2 separate regions of the Homo sapiens genome follow, and region 1 is linked to region 2. Evidence: promoter capture Hi-C in 16 types of primary human blood cells and fetal thymus (Javierre and others, 2016). All regions are on one chromosome and are shown on one strand. Each heading gives the region's core, a stretch centred on a gene start or on the middle of the fragment in contact. The rest is flanking DNA. Distances are from core to core; before and after follow the strand shown.

Region 1 (6,768 bases), core at 1,154-3,653, 570 kb after region 2:
TCTATCCCCTCCTCACTGGCCTTTCTAGGTCAGCTTCCAGGCCTGGAGGTCTGTGCTGAAGTAGCTCTAATTAGGAGGGGACCCCAAGTTAAGGACGAACCCAGAGCAGAGGAAGAGAGGATCAGGCAAAGGCAGGCATGGTGAGAGGAAAGGCAGGAGGTGTTGGGGCCACTGGGAGAGGACTTATAAGGGCAGAAAGAGCCAAGAGAGGAGGGATATTGGGGAGAGTAGAAAGGCCAGCCAAAGAATGACTAAGGGGCTCCCGGTGTAAACAGGAGCAGGGAATGGACAGGGAGGGGGCCTGTTTGAGTTGGCCAAGGCTAGGGGTGGAGTGGGGAGGAGGACTGGGGCAGGACGCTATGTCCCCTGTCCCCCACCAAGGCTCCTGGGAGGAGCTGAGTCACACACCTCCTTCCCTGCACCCCTCCCCACCCCCACCCCTAATCTCCCAAATCCTGGGAAAATCTAAAGAGTTTGCCTAGACTGAGAAAGGAGAGTGTTTGGTTCACACACGTGTTTTGCTGGGCTAAAAAGCAATCAGGCCTCAGCCCTTCTCCTCCCAAAGGGGGTTCCCAGCCCATGGCTTGAGTAGCTCTCACCTAAAGGTTGCCTTTTTGGCAATGCTGGGCTTAAAGATCCTGACCCAGAGATTCCCTGGGTTCCTCACCTAAGAAAGGGTCAGGACTTGCAGATGTGAGAATGGGATACGGGCCAGCATTGCCCCACAGTCTGGCCAGCCAGCCTCTCCCTTGGGCTGCAGCTGGCTCTGGAGGGGGGCTTTTAAAAAAGCAGATGGGTGATTTGGGACAGGAAGTGGAGTAGCAGAGTGAGGGGGAGAGTCATGGCAGGAAAAAAACATTGACTCTGGGCACTCTTATTCTGAGCCTTTCAGCCCGAAGTGGGGCAGGGGACTGGAGAACAGAAGGGACAGGGTTGACAGGATATTATTGACAGGGTATTATTCTGGAAAGTGAGGAGTCCTGGAGGAAAGAGACTGAAAGGACTTGTAGTCCCCTCCCCCAGACTAAGATAAAGGCTAGAATCCTGAAAAGTGATCTCATCACACAGAGCCTGAGCTTGGGGAAGAGGTGGGCAGGGGGTCACTGCCTTCCCTTTCTAGAGTCCCTTCCTCTACTTCCACAGGGGAATCTGGGAAGAATGGGGTCCTGGCTTTCCGCTCCCATTGTTTTTTTGGTTTTTGGTTTTTGGATTTTTTTTTTTTTTTTTTTTTTGGATACAGTCTTGCTCTGTCACCCAGGCTAGAGTGCAGTGGTGCAATCGCGGCTCATTGCAGTCTCTGCCTCCTGGGTTCAAGTAATTATCCTGCCTCAGCTTCCCGAGTAGCTGGGATTACAGGTGCGGACCACCACATCTGGATAATTTTTGTATTTTTAGTGGAGATGGGTTTTGCCATGTTGGCCAGGCTGGTCTTGAACTCCTGGCCTCAGGTGATCTGCTCACCTCGGCATCCCAAAGTGCTGGGATTACAGGTGTGAGCCACCGTGCCTGGCCAGAGCTCCCAGCGTTTACAGCCATTAGGAGCTGAAGGTTGGGTCCCTTTGCAAGACTTTCCACCACCACCACCACCTCTCACAATTCTCCAGGTTTGTAGGAACCCGGCCAGTTTAATCAAGCAGGTACTGAGGGGCCAGCCACTCGCAGGCTTTTGGTCAACTGTCAGATCCAAGGAAGGGGCTCAGCAGAGGTTTACATACCCTAGGACCAAGAAGGGGGCAAACTGGAGCAGAATCCTCCTGATGAATGACCCCAAACTCCTGGGTTTTCAATACTAGCAAGCTTGGAGGAGGAAGCAGCGGAACTTGAGGAGCCCGTGTAGGTCCTCTAGCAAGCTGACTGCGAACGCTGTCTCTGTACCTCAACTGTTGTGTCCCAAATCCAGCTGGCCAGAACCCAGGCACCCGGCGGCCCCGGAAGGCAAGGGGGAATCCCAGTTGGCCGGACGCCAGAGGAGTCTCCTGTCTCTTTAGACCCCAAAGTCTCCTCCCTAAAGCACTGAGGGAGACCCCACACACATATACAGGCTTCCTCCGCCCACCAGAGGTGATTCCTTTCCTCATTAGGAAATTCTCCGCTCCCTTTTCCGACTCGTTTTCCGAGCGTTTACGTTGTACATCTGGAAAGGAATGGGGAGGAAGGAGGGGGAAGCAGAGAGGAGGGGGAAGAACCCAAACCCGCCCAGTCTAACCCAGTCCAGACAACCGGCTTCCAGCTGGGGCTGGGGAAAGGGGGTTGGAGGGGTGCGCCCCCCCCCCACGCCCCTTAGGGGTGGGGGACGCGGGCTCAGAGTTCCAGGGACCCAGGAATGCCCCCCCGCCAGCCCCCTCGGCAGGCGGGGGGAGGGCTCAGCCGGGAGTTTGGCAAACTCCTCCCCGCGTTGAGTCATTCGCCTCTGGGAGGTTTAGGAAGCGGCTCCGGGTCGGTGGCCCCAGGACAGGGAAGAGCGGGCGCTATGGGGAGCCGGACGCCAGAGTCCCCTCTCCACGCCGTGCAGCTGCGCTGGGGCCCCCGGCGCCGACCCCCGCTGCTGCCGCTGCTGTTGCTGCTGCTGCCGCCGCCACCCAGGGTCGGGGGCTTCAACTTAGACGCGGAGGCCCCAGCAGTACTCTCGGGGCCCCCGGGCTCCTTCTTCGGATTCTCAGTGGAGTTTTACCGGCCGGGAACAGACGGGTGAGTGAGGAGGGCTGGAGACGGGATGGGGGTGGGGGAGCCGCCTGGAGACTGGGGGCGCGGCTGGGGTCTGGAGGGGACCAGGGCTTAAGTTTGAGGGTGGAGTTTGTAAGGAATAGAGCTGCAGTTGGGGGCCCTGGCTAGAGTTGGGGGCCCGCGCTGGAGTAGGGAGGGCACCGTGGCGGGTGAGGAGGGGCCCTGGCGTTTGAGATCAGTGGGGAGACATGTGTCCGGTGGGGAGAGGACACGGAGCTGGAGAAGTCTGGGCAGGGGTCTCCGGGCCAAGGGAGAGGAGAGCGCGTGAATGGAGAGCTGAGGGTCTCTGGCTGAAGTCTGTGGGCTGCTGGGACCTGGGGCGGGTGGGGGCGCAGAGGGGGCGCAGAGGCCGGGAAGGGCTTTTGGGGGCTCCAGGAGACCTCGGGATCCGTAGGGGCCATTGTGCGGCGAGAGAACGGGTAGAAGCCGAATGAGCTACGTGTAGTAGGAGGAAAGTCAAAGACTGAGGGGGTCGGAAGGTTAAATGGGGGCCAGCCTCATCCTCCCCTCCCCCCTCAACTCAGACCGGGGAAAGACCCGAGAGAGGACGGCGGCTCCCTCTCCTTTCTCCTCTGTCTCCTACTCCTCCCTCCGCCCCCAATCTCTGTTCAGGCGAGGGGATCCGAGAACTGGGGGCGAGTGCGGGGACCCTGGCACTGGGGCCCTGGGGCTGGGGGCGAACTCAGCCAAGGGCGGGTGCTGGGATGTGTCGGGAGGGGTGTGTGCGCGCGTGAAGGGGGGTGGGCGGTTTCCCTCTTCCTCTGGCTCTTGGGAGGAAGAGAAAAGCTGGTTTCCTGTAGCTGGTCGGCTGGAGCTGTGCTGAGACCGGGACTTCTGGGGCTGGGGTCGGAAGCTGGGGAGACGGGGGCTCCGTGGGGCCAAGAACGTCAGAATGAAGGACTCAGGACCCTGGAAATCTCAAAGGAGGATCCTTATTCCCAACTCAGCACAGTGATAAGCAGACCCGGACCCCGAGTGCCTAGAAAATGGGGTACTGACAGGCTTGGGAAACAGGAGTTAGAGTGGAAGCAACATTAGAACCAAGGGTGTCTGTTTAAATGTGGGATGGCGGGGAGATTGGGAAGCAAGAGAGGTAGGTGGTTGCTCCTGGGCTAGGCCATAGATGCCAGATTCCTGGTCCTCCACAATGACTGGTGTAATCCTTTTTCTTCTACATCTCTGAGCTGGGAGCTTCCTACTGCTCACCCCCACCCCAACCCCAGGATCTCAGGGTTTGAGGGGAATTCTGTCAGAAGCGACCTGTTTTTACACATGAGACAGTTAACTGATCTCTACTCAGTCCCTATAGTTTTTGGAGAAAAGGGGTTAATCTAGCTAATACAACTGGGGAGAAAGGCAAATTCTCCTTTGTCTGGAGGACTTGGGGATGGGAGAAAAGAAAAATGATTAGGCCCCGACTGTTGTTCTGGGCTATTCAAGGTCCCCACCCAACCCCCACCCCACCCCCCTGGCCTTTTGCCCAAACCCCATTGCATCATCACCCTGGCCTGGAGCCTCTGCCAGGCCTGGTCTCCCCCAGGTTCCCTCAAACTTCTTATCACAGCCCTAATGGAGTAGAAAAGAGGGAAGGAGGAAGGGGATGAGGTCTCCTCCCGCAGATCAGAGTATCTAGTTGTCTGGCATTTAACCTTCTCTTTACTCCCCCCTCCCCTAAATTTCCCTTTAAAACACTCCTCTAAAACATCTGGACTTCACACATTCCTGGTCCCCTAGGTGTCTGTCTGGCCCCTGGCCTGATCCTGTAGTCCCTAAAGTCCTCTTCTAAAACAGGACCTAGCTCTCTCATCCCTTCCCCCTCCCCTTCTGCTCATCTCCCCTCCCAAGAGAACCCAGGTGTCCAGCTTGCACTCCTTCCCTCTCATTTCCTATTTACAATACCCTCTTACAGTGGAACATTCTACCTCCCCAGTGACCTCCTCCCACCACAGCTAGGCCTTCACCCCCTTTCCCACAACACAAGACAAACACAGCCCCTCACCTACAGCCATTGCCAAAGAGGGAGAGCCTCAGTGTTCTTGTTCTTCCTGCATCACCTCTTGTGGTGAACACCAAAATAGTATTAAAGGACAGGGCGAGCACCAAAGCAGTTAGATGGTAGGAAAGGGCAAAGCTTTCAGTCAGACAGAGGTAGGTGTGAGTCCCCACTACTTACTAGTTTTTTGCGTGGTACCCTAGTACCTAGGGAGAGGTATTTAAGCTCTTGGAGCCTGGTCTTCCCGTGAAAATCAGACACCTGACTAACGGAGTTCTGAGGACTAAATGAGAAAACATATACAAAAGGAACCTGGTCCACAGAGAGTGATCAATACATGGGCGGCATGGTTTTTATGGGGTAGCTGTTTCTGTTTCTGGTTCTCTCCTTCCTGGCTACCGCCTAGTTCCCTCATTTCTTACTTGCTTTGAGTATTTGCTTATACTAGTGATAGTAACAATAGTCTGTCATATTCCTTTAGCACTTTCATATCGATTTTTCCATTGGATTGTAACAAAAATCCTTGTGTTAAAGCAAAGGAAGCATTATTGCCCCATTTTTAGATATACAAAAACTGAGGCTGGCCAGGTGCAGTGGCTCACGCCTGTAATGCCAGCACTTTGGGAGGCGGAGGTGGGTGGATCACCTGAGGTCAGGAGTTCGAGACCAGCCTGGCCAACATGGTGAAACCCCATCTCTACTAAAAATAAAAAAATTAGCCGAGCGTGCTGGCACGCACCTGTAATCCCAGCTACTCGGGAAACTGAGGCAGGAGAATCCCTTGAACCTGGGAGGCAGAGATTGCAGTGAGCTGAGATCACATCTGTACTGAGCGACCCCAGACTGGGCGACAGAGTGAGACTCCATCTCAAAAAAACAACAACAAACAAACAAAAAATAAAAACAACTGAGGCTTCAGGAGTCATAGAAATTTTGAACCAGAAGTTAGTTTAGGAAACATTCAAGGGAAATCCATCATTTTATGCCAGAGAATCCAAAGCTTGAAGAGAGGCAGTGACTTGGCCCAGGACACTTGAAAGCTTGAGAGGCAGGCCAGTCTCAGCTCAGCTCCTTGTTCCCTTCTGCAACTGCCACAAGTGGAGACAGCTGTTCTTCCCCAGCCAATCATACATATCCCTTGTGAATGCACTAGGGGACCCCAAACCAGGTGTCCTCCTCTGGCCTGGCCCATGCTGCTGTAGGACCTGTAGGAGCTGGGCGCTGGTCCACTTGCTGCTCTCCACCCCTGACCTTGTCAGGCCAACAGAGTCAAACAGTAACCCAGTATTGAACTGGGACTTGGTTAATCAAAAGCTGGGGAGATAGCAGATATGAGAGGAGGGAATAAGTTGGCAATGGGGTAGACTAGAATGCTGTCGTAGAAATCAGGATTCCTGATTTCTGCTTCATATTCTGGGAGGGATTATGAGTGACCTAAGCCCATTACTTAACTCCTCTGAGATAGTTTTCCCATCTGCAGAATGAGAACATGGGACGAGGTGAGCAGCTTTGAACTTTTTCTTAGGGAGTGTCAGAACGAGGCCAGTCTGCCTTTATGCCATGTGGCCTCAGGCACCTACAGTGAAGTCTTAAAACCAGTGGATGCTCTCTACAGTGCCTTCTAGCTGTGGTAGTCTGTGTCTCCAAGGACCAACCCTTCCATTTCTGAGGCTTCAGAATAAATTCTGGCAGTTATTTCTTCTCTCAGACTCTATTTCAGAAAAGTGTACCTGCCAACCTGCATTTAGTAAGAAATAATGAATTCCTTTTCTCATTCTTTTTATTTTTATTTTTTATTTTTTTGAGACGGAGTTTCGCTCTTGTTGCCCAGTCTGGGATGCAATGGCGCAATCTCGGCTCACCGCAACCCCCACCTCCCTGGTTCAAGCGATTCTCCTGCCTCAGCCTCCTGAGTAGCTGGAATTACAGGCATGTGCCACCACGCCCAGCTAATTTTGTATTTTTAGTAGAGACGGGGTTTCGCCATGTTGGTCAAGCTGGTCTCAAACTCCCGACCTCAGGTGATCTGCCTGTCTCAGCCTCCCAAAGTG
Region 2 (6,617 bases), core at 1-2,500:
GAGATCAAGTTTTAAAACTCTTCCACATTTCTTGTTTGTCAAGTCCATGAGATTTTTCTTGATAGATCTCTCTCTAGCCCTGAAAGTCTCCTGCCTCCCATCCTATGAAACCCTCAGATCTCTCCTCCTCCACTGCACTTACACCCACATCCAGGCTCTGTCCTCCTCCATGGGCTTACAAAACACTGAGCACTCACCATGCAAATCACACAGAAGAACTCAATTAAGACCTGTGATTCTGAGTTAAATGGGCTTGATCAAAAGAAAGATGAAACATAGGCTCACTGAGAATTCAATCCTGTGTTCATAGCCATCTGAATATAATCAAAGATGTTAATGTCACGATTTAATCCAGAGAAGTGGCTGTAGTGGAAGAAAACTTTTCCAAAATAATTTCCTTGGGATGTTCCAAGGAAGGAAGGAAAGATAAGGGAAGGGTAGGGAAGGAGAGGGGAGGGGAGGGGAGGGCAGGGGAATCCATAGGCCAATACATTTGGGAAATACAAAACTTTCTCCTTCTAGGAGAGTCACAATTCATGTTAATCTATTAAAAGCCTCAAGAAGTTATGCCTTAAAGCAGGGGGCCTCAACCCCTGGACCACAGACCAGCACAGTTTGGTTGCCTGTTAGGAACCTGGCCTCACAGCAGGAAGGTGAGTGGCAGGCATGATCATCTGAAGTGGAACAGTTTCATCGCCAAACCCTCCCCCTCACCCTGCTCCCATGGAAAAATTGTCTTCCATGAAACCAGTCCTTGATGCCAAAAGGTTGGGGACCACTGCCTTAAAGGAACATGTTTGTCTTTTGTTAACCCTGTATTTCCCCAAATTACTTGATCATACTAGAAAATAAGCCCTCTAAGGGACAGTATTTGATACTGTTTCTCCCCCTTGTATATCTTCCTCTCCTTCTATACTCCCCTCAGTCCCTTCCCCAGATCTATCTCATTTCTGACACTCAGAAGGTATCCAATAAAATACATTTTGGGTAGAATTACAATCCAGATCACTGAAAGAACACCCTCTGCAGAGGCCTGAGATGGATTGCTCTTCTGTTTTGCTGGACTCTTACAGAGGGAAGATACAGCCAGACAGAAGGAAGAACTTTCTGGCATTGAGTGGAGTAATTTAGTAGAATGGGTAGGTTAGAAAAGTTAGAGAATCCCATTTGTTTGTATCCTTAACAACCAGAACATAGAAGCAGAGAAAAGAACAAGATGACCTTGGTGGACACTTTTCTGCCTGGAGAAAGTTCAGAAAATCCTTGGTGAGTTAAATCACTGCTCTCTCCCCTACAATTCTATCCACTCTCTCTTTCTACTTTTGAGCCTTTGGTACAGGAAGGAGACAAAGTCACTCAAATTCCCACATCAGCAATTTGGAGGAACAGACTCTTAGCAAAAAAAACAAAACAGCCAAACAAAACAAAACAAAAATGGCATTTGCAAACCCCAGGATCTGAGAAAGAAGAAGGTTGAGAGCTGAAATGGAGGCAGATGATTTGCATCTGGGCCTGGGCAGAGGGGCCCAGCTGCTCGGCCCAGAGCAGTGGCTCTGAGCAGCAGCTTCTCTGTCTTGGGACAGCCTCTATGGACAGCTGTCCTGGCTCTGCCCCAGGTCTGGGCAACCTGCCAGCTCAGCCTGTAGTTCTGCAGCTCCAGAACTTATACTCACTACAGCCCATCTGTTTGATGGGCTCATCAGTGTTCAGAAATTGTTCTTATTTATCAGTGTTATCAGGTTACATGTCTAGAGGATAATATTATTCAAAAGCAATATTTACTTGGCTTTTCAATGGAAAAGAGTCTTTCAAAATACTTTTTCTAATACCTTTATAATAATTTCTTACCAAATATCACTTAATATTTTCATTTTCCATAATAAACTACATGCAGTTATAAAAGGGTAGAGAAAAATAGTCTGTACAGGTGTTACTGACATCTAAAGCCAAGAGGATCTTAGAAAATATTTCTCTGTCAGAAGGTGATACCGATATCCAGTGAAATTAAGTAACTAGTATAGTTTTAAACTCAGATTGCTCTTTTACCCCTAGTTCAGGGTTTTTACTAAATTCTATAAAACACAAGAGAGGGAGCCATGGAATGACAAATAGGCCCTATCATGAGGCACCAAACTGCTGAATCACATAGGCAGTAGAGAGCTAATTCATTATCTCAGTTAGCATAAGGGTTTTTATTTTTAACCAAGGGAAAAAAAATGAACAAGCTCACAAAAAAACCTTCAGAAACCCTGAACTACTGCGTCTCGTATAAAAAGAACAAGTCATTTTGTTTTCATGAAGCACCTGGAATATATGCTCAGAGAAGTTCATGGTGCCAAAGATATAGAGACAATGTTTTCAAAGGGTGGGAAGGGCAGGTGAGAGGGAAAAAAGAGAAAGGGGAAGGAGGAAAGGAGGGAAGGAAGGAAAGAAGGAAGGAAGGAAGGAAGGAAGGAAAAGGAATGGAAGGAAGGAAGGGAAAGAAGGAAAGAAACAAAGAAAGAAAGAGAAAGACTATACAACTGAGAAAGAAGATAAACAGAGGAATACCCTGGGCCGCCTCCTCCTCCTAGGAATCATATAGTCTTCATCTTTGTCTTTCAGAAGCTGCTTGTAGAAGAGAAAAATATTTCTTTCAAAAAATAAATCACAAATACTATAAACATATAAACCTACATATGTACTCATAAAAATTAAGAATAAATATAAATAAAAACCAAAAATTAATACATCTTTTTTATTAACAAAAAAATCTCTAGCAATTGCTTGTGAAATGGTATCTTTAATGAGTGAGGTAATTTTGACAGATAGACATAGTATTCTGCAGAAACTGAAAATATTATATTTCATGCAAATCAAAACCACAATGAGATACCATCTCACACTACTCAGAATGGCTATTATTAAAAAGTCAAAAAATAAAAGATGTTGGCGAGGTGGCAGAGGAAAAGGAATGTTTATACACTGTTGGCGGGAGTGTAAATTAGTTCAACCCTTGTGGAAGACAATGTGGCGATTGCTCAAAGACCTAAAAACAGAAATATCTTTAGACTCAGCAATCCCATTACCGAGTATATACCTGGAGGAATATAAATCATTCTGTTATAAAGACACGAGCACATGTATGTTTGCTGCAACACTATTCACAATAGCAAAGACATGGAATCAACCCAAATGCCCAGTGATGATAGACTGGATAAAGAAAATGTGGCACATATACACCATGGAATACTATGCAGCCATAAAAAAGAATGAGATCATGTCCTTTGCAGCAACATGGATGGAGCTGGAGGCCATTATCCTTAGCAAACTAACACAGGAACAGAAAACCAAATACCGCATGTTCTCACCTATAAGTGGGAGCTAAATGATGAGAACACATGGACACATAGAGGGAAACAACACACACTGGGGCCTATGGGAGGGTAGAGGGTGGAAGGAGGGAGAGGATCAAAACAAATACCTATTGGGTACTAGGCTTAATACCTGGGTGATGAAATAATCTGTACAACAAACCCCTATGACAGGAGTTTACCTATGTAACAAACTTGCACATGTACCACTGAACTTAAAATAAAAGTTAAAAGAAACTATTATATTTCAAGAGTCTTAAAAATAGCTGCAATTTCTTGAGCATTTGCTGTAAGGTAGGCGCTGGACTGAATACTCTGTATTCCTTTATTCTTATAGCTCTACAACCACTCCTGTAAGGTTATCCCCATTTAGCAGCTAACAAACTGAGACCTAGAGATGTTAACGTATCCAAGACTACAGAGCTACTTGATGCCAGAGCTTCACTCTAAAGCCTGCTCTCCTAACCATCAAACTATCAATGTTAACAAAATGTTGACATTTGGGCCAGGACAATTATTCCTTATACTGAAGAGTCCCATCCCTTCAAAAGCACTTATCATCATTGGCCCTCAGGTACTAAATACCAGTATCAGCTTCCCATTTCTTTGAAAATTAAATCTCTCTCACATATTTCCAAACTCCCTACCGAAGTTATATTCTCCATTTCCCAAACATATTGGAAAACAACTGTTAAGGAAAACATTGAATTCTAGAAACTTAGGATTTAAAAGAGTTGTTAAGTTTCCATTAGTTCAGCTTTTATAGTTAATTTGTACGGAAAAGAATAGTAAATAAAGAGAATTAGGGCGTGTTGGATTTAGCATTTTACTTGTTGACTGTGAAGCTAATTCTCAGAGAAGCACATATTTAGCATCTACTATGTCCTGAGAAAATATGTTAGATATTTTCATGCCTACGTAAAAGGAATAGCGTGGGAGAAGGGTTGAGTGAGAAACAGAGAGAATTGTTATTTTCCTCACATTATACTTGAAGAAAATAATGTTTTGAGAACTTAATTTGCCAAGCAAGAATTTTATTTAGGATTATTTCTACCATATTATAGCTATACTATGGATACTCAATGGAGTTGTCCCATTGATGATTGGAAATGGAATTTAGAAACATGGTAAAAAAAAAATCTAACTATACCTATAGCCAAAAAATCAGAAAGAAGGTAATGAACATGTGAAAATCAGTCACAATTAACACATTAGAGGAGTGCCTTGTAGAATAAATATTGTGATATACATTCATAAATAAATGATTTAAAGAAGGAAACAGTAGAATCAGGAGAGAGACAGAAAGAAGATATCCAAAATGCAGCAGCATCCTACGGAGAAGAGTGTTCAGAGATACTGGAGAAGCGAGGAGGGATAGTTAGCAGTGCTGGATGCTCCCGGTGGGTGAAAGTGATTGAGGCCTGGGAGAAACCTTTTAGAGTTCAACAAGCCTTTTCCAAACTGAAAACCAATAAACTGAAGACATCTTCAGGGTGTAACCGATTTTAAAAGTTCAGCTTTGAAAACGTTGGGGAAAGCAGTCATTTACTACAAAAACAAAAACTTTGAAGTGGTTTGAACATAAAACAAAGTTAAGAAACTAACAGAAAAAAAAAGTAGTCAGTATTCAAAAACAAGCTTCGGGGGAATTTACCAGAGTATGAAAGTTATCAACACAGAGCGACTGGCTCAGAGCCCTCTCAAGTGTGTGATACGACTGGAAACTTCTTCTCTGAGATAAACGCCAGATCATTTATGAGAGAGAGCTTTCCCATTTTCAGACAGCTCTCCTGAGGACAGAAGGATTTATCTGCAGCAGTGGAATTCTAGTTATATGGTAGGAAGACTCCTGCACACACCTCTTTAAATGGACTGTACCTTTGCCTTAATAGGAAAAGATCTCCTGTTTTTCTGGAAAGACAGAGGCAGCTCTGGGGCAGGAAGGTCTTCCTAGTTGTGAGCACCGTGTCTACGGATGGTTTGTCCTTCGCTCAGTCTCCTGAGCCGGAGCAAAGGATGTGGCTGGGCCAGGAGGCGGGGACTGCATCTACATGTGTGGATGTGTGTGTGTGTGGTGTGTTCTCATTTCCGCTTCCCCTTTTGAGCAGGCAACAGCAGTTGAATGAGTTCAGGGAGAAAGGCATAATCTACAACATGATACTTTCTCACTTGCTTCACCTCTGTGCCCACACCTGTGAAGGCCTCGGCCCAGCTTCGACAACTGCTTTGCCTCAAACTCAGCTTTCTACCAGCAGACAGGTAAGCACAGCCTTTATCTCAGTTTCAAGGCTGTACTGATTTAGGGTGATGCTAGGAGAAAGAAGGAAACATGTCAGAGAAAAATCAGGCTGTCAAGTCAAGGGAAAATCAAGAGAAAATCTCCCACCACTCTTACTTCAACCTTAAAAGCATCCATCATTATGCCTAGGAGAACGATGCTGGGTGCCCTTTTGCTTTCGTTTGTTTGTTTTCTCTTTATTATCAGAGAGGTAATCTTTCTAGATTCTCAAAACTTGGGTCTCTTTGATGACTTGAATAACATTTTAGGAATTTTTTTTCACCTTTCTCACCTGCAAAGTTCTTCTCTGTGTCTTGCTGAACTCATTGTTGCTGCAATTTCCATCTGATTATAACATCGAAAAGTTCTCAAGGAAGAAGTTTCCCGGTTTCATTTCAGGCCCTACTCTAGTGTCCATAGCTCCAACCATTGAGAGTACCTGGCTGAAATCAACTTTGCTTTCTGTGGGTATGACCTCTTTCTTCAGAAGCTGTAGAAGAAACTTGTTGAGATAAACTGCAGCAAGATATATTGAGGTCAGCTACGAGGGAGGATGTACACACTTGAGTGAGGTAAGGTCAAATTCACCGGGAGGCTCAAGATAGATGGATAGCCACCATCAGGACCAGATTTCAGGGTTCACATCTCAAAGATAGATAGATGGATGTGTTGCCTTCTCAGTGACCTACATAATATTGGGGGCTTCATGCTCCTCCAACACCCCTTGCCCCAGTGGTAGCAGGCAGAGCATATCACCACCTACATGAGTTTTGGGGTAGATGGAGGAGTGGAAAGATCCTCCACCCTGGGGTTTTCCCATGCCCCTTCTGTGCCACTAAGCTCACCAGTGGGTGGAAGAAAAAGGGTGGGTCCCCAGGGCAGGGCAAGGACAAGAAAGGAGAGTTCCACAGAAGTGATTTGACAAGACTGTGAGCATTTACAGGAGATATCCAGGGAAGTACTAGTGACTCTGTATACCACAAATG

Evidence for each region. Contacts are between HindIII fragments. The CHiCAGO score rates a contact against its expected background, and 5 or more counts as called.
Region 1: a contact is called between the fragment with the promoter of ITGA5 here and a fragment that was not itself captured in region 2, in 1 of 17 cell types (non-activated CD4 T cells). The highest score is 5.4, in non-activated CD4 T cells.

Annotation. Positions count from the first base shown.
Region 1 is chr12:54,414,901-54,421,668 of GRCh38, reverse strand. ITGA5 (integrin subunit alpha 5) reads left to right here and starts at 2,403. Exons shown (of 30, transcript NM_002205.5): 1 at 2,403-2,688. The coding sequence starts at 2,471. All of the region lies in intron 2 of GPR84-AS1 (GPR84, ZNF385A, ITGA5 and GTSF1 antisense RNA 1), which reads right to left. The HindIII fragment of the contact is 3,058 bases long and covers 1,800-4,857 here.
Region 2 is chr12:54,983,580-54,990,196 of GRCh38, reverse strand. LOC107984515 (a long non-coding RNA gene) reads right to left here and starts at 5,346. Exons shown (of 2, transcript XR_001749161.2): 1 at 5,232-5,346. It overlaps TESPA1 (thymocyte expressed, positive selection associated 1), which reads left to right and starts at 5,435. Exons shown (of 11, transcript NM_001136030.3): 1 at 5,435-5,612. The HindIII fragment of the contact is 7,487 bases long and covers 1-4,993 here.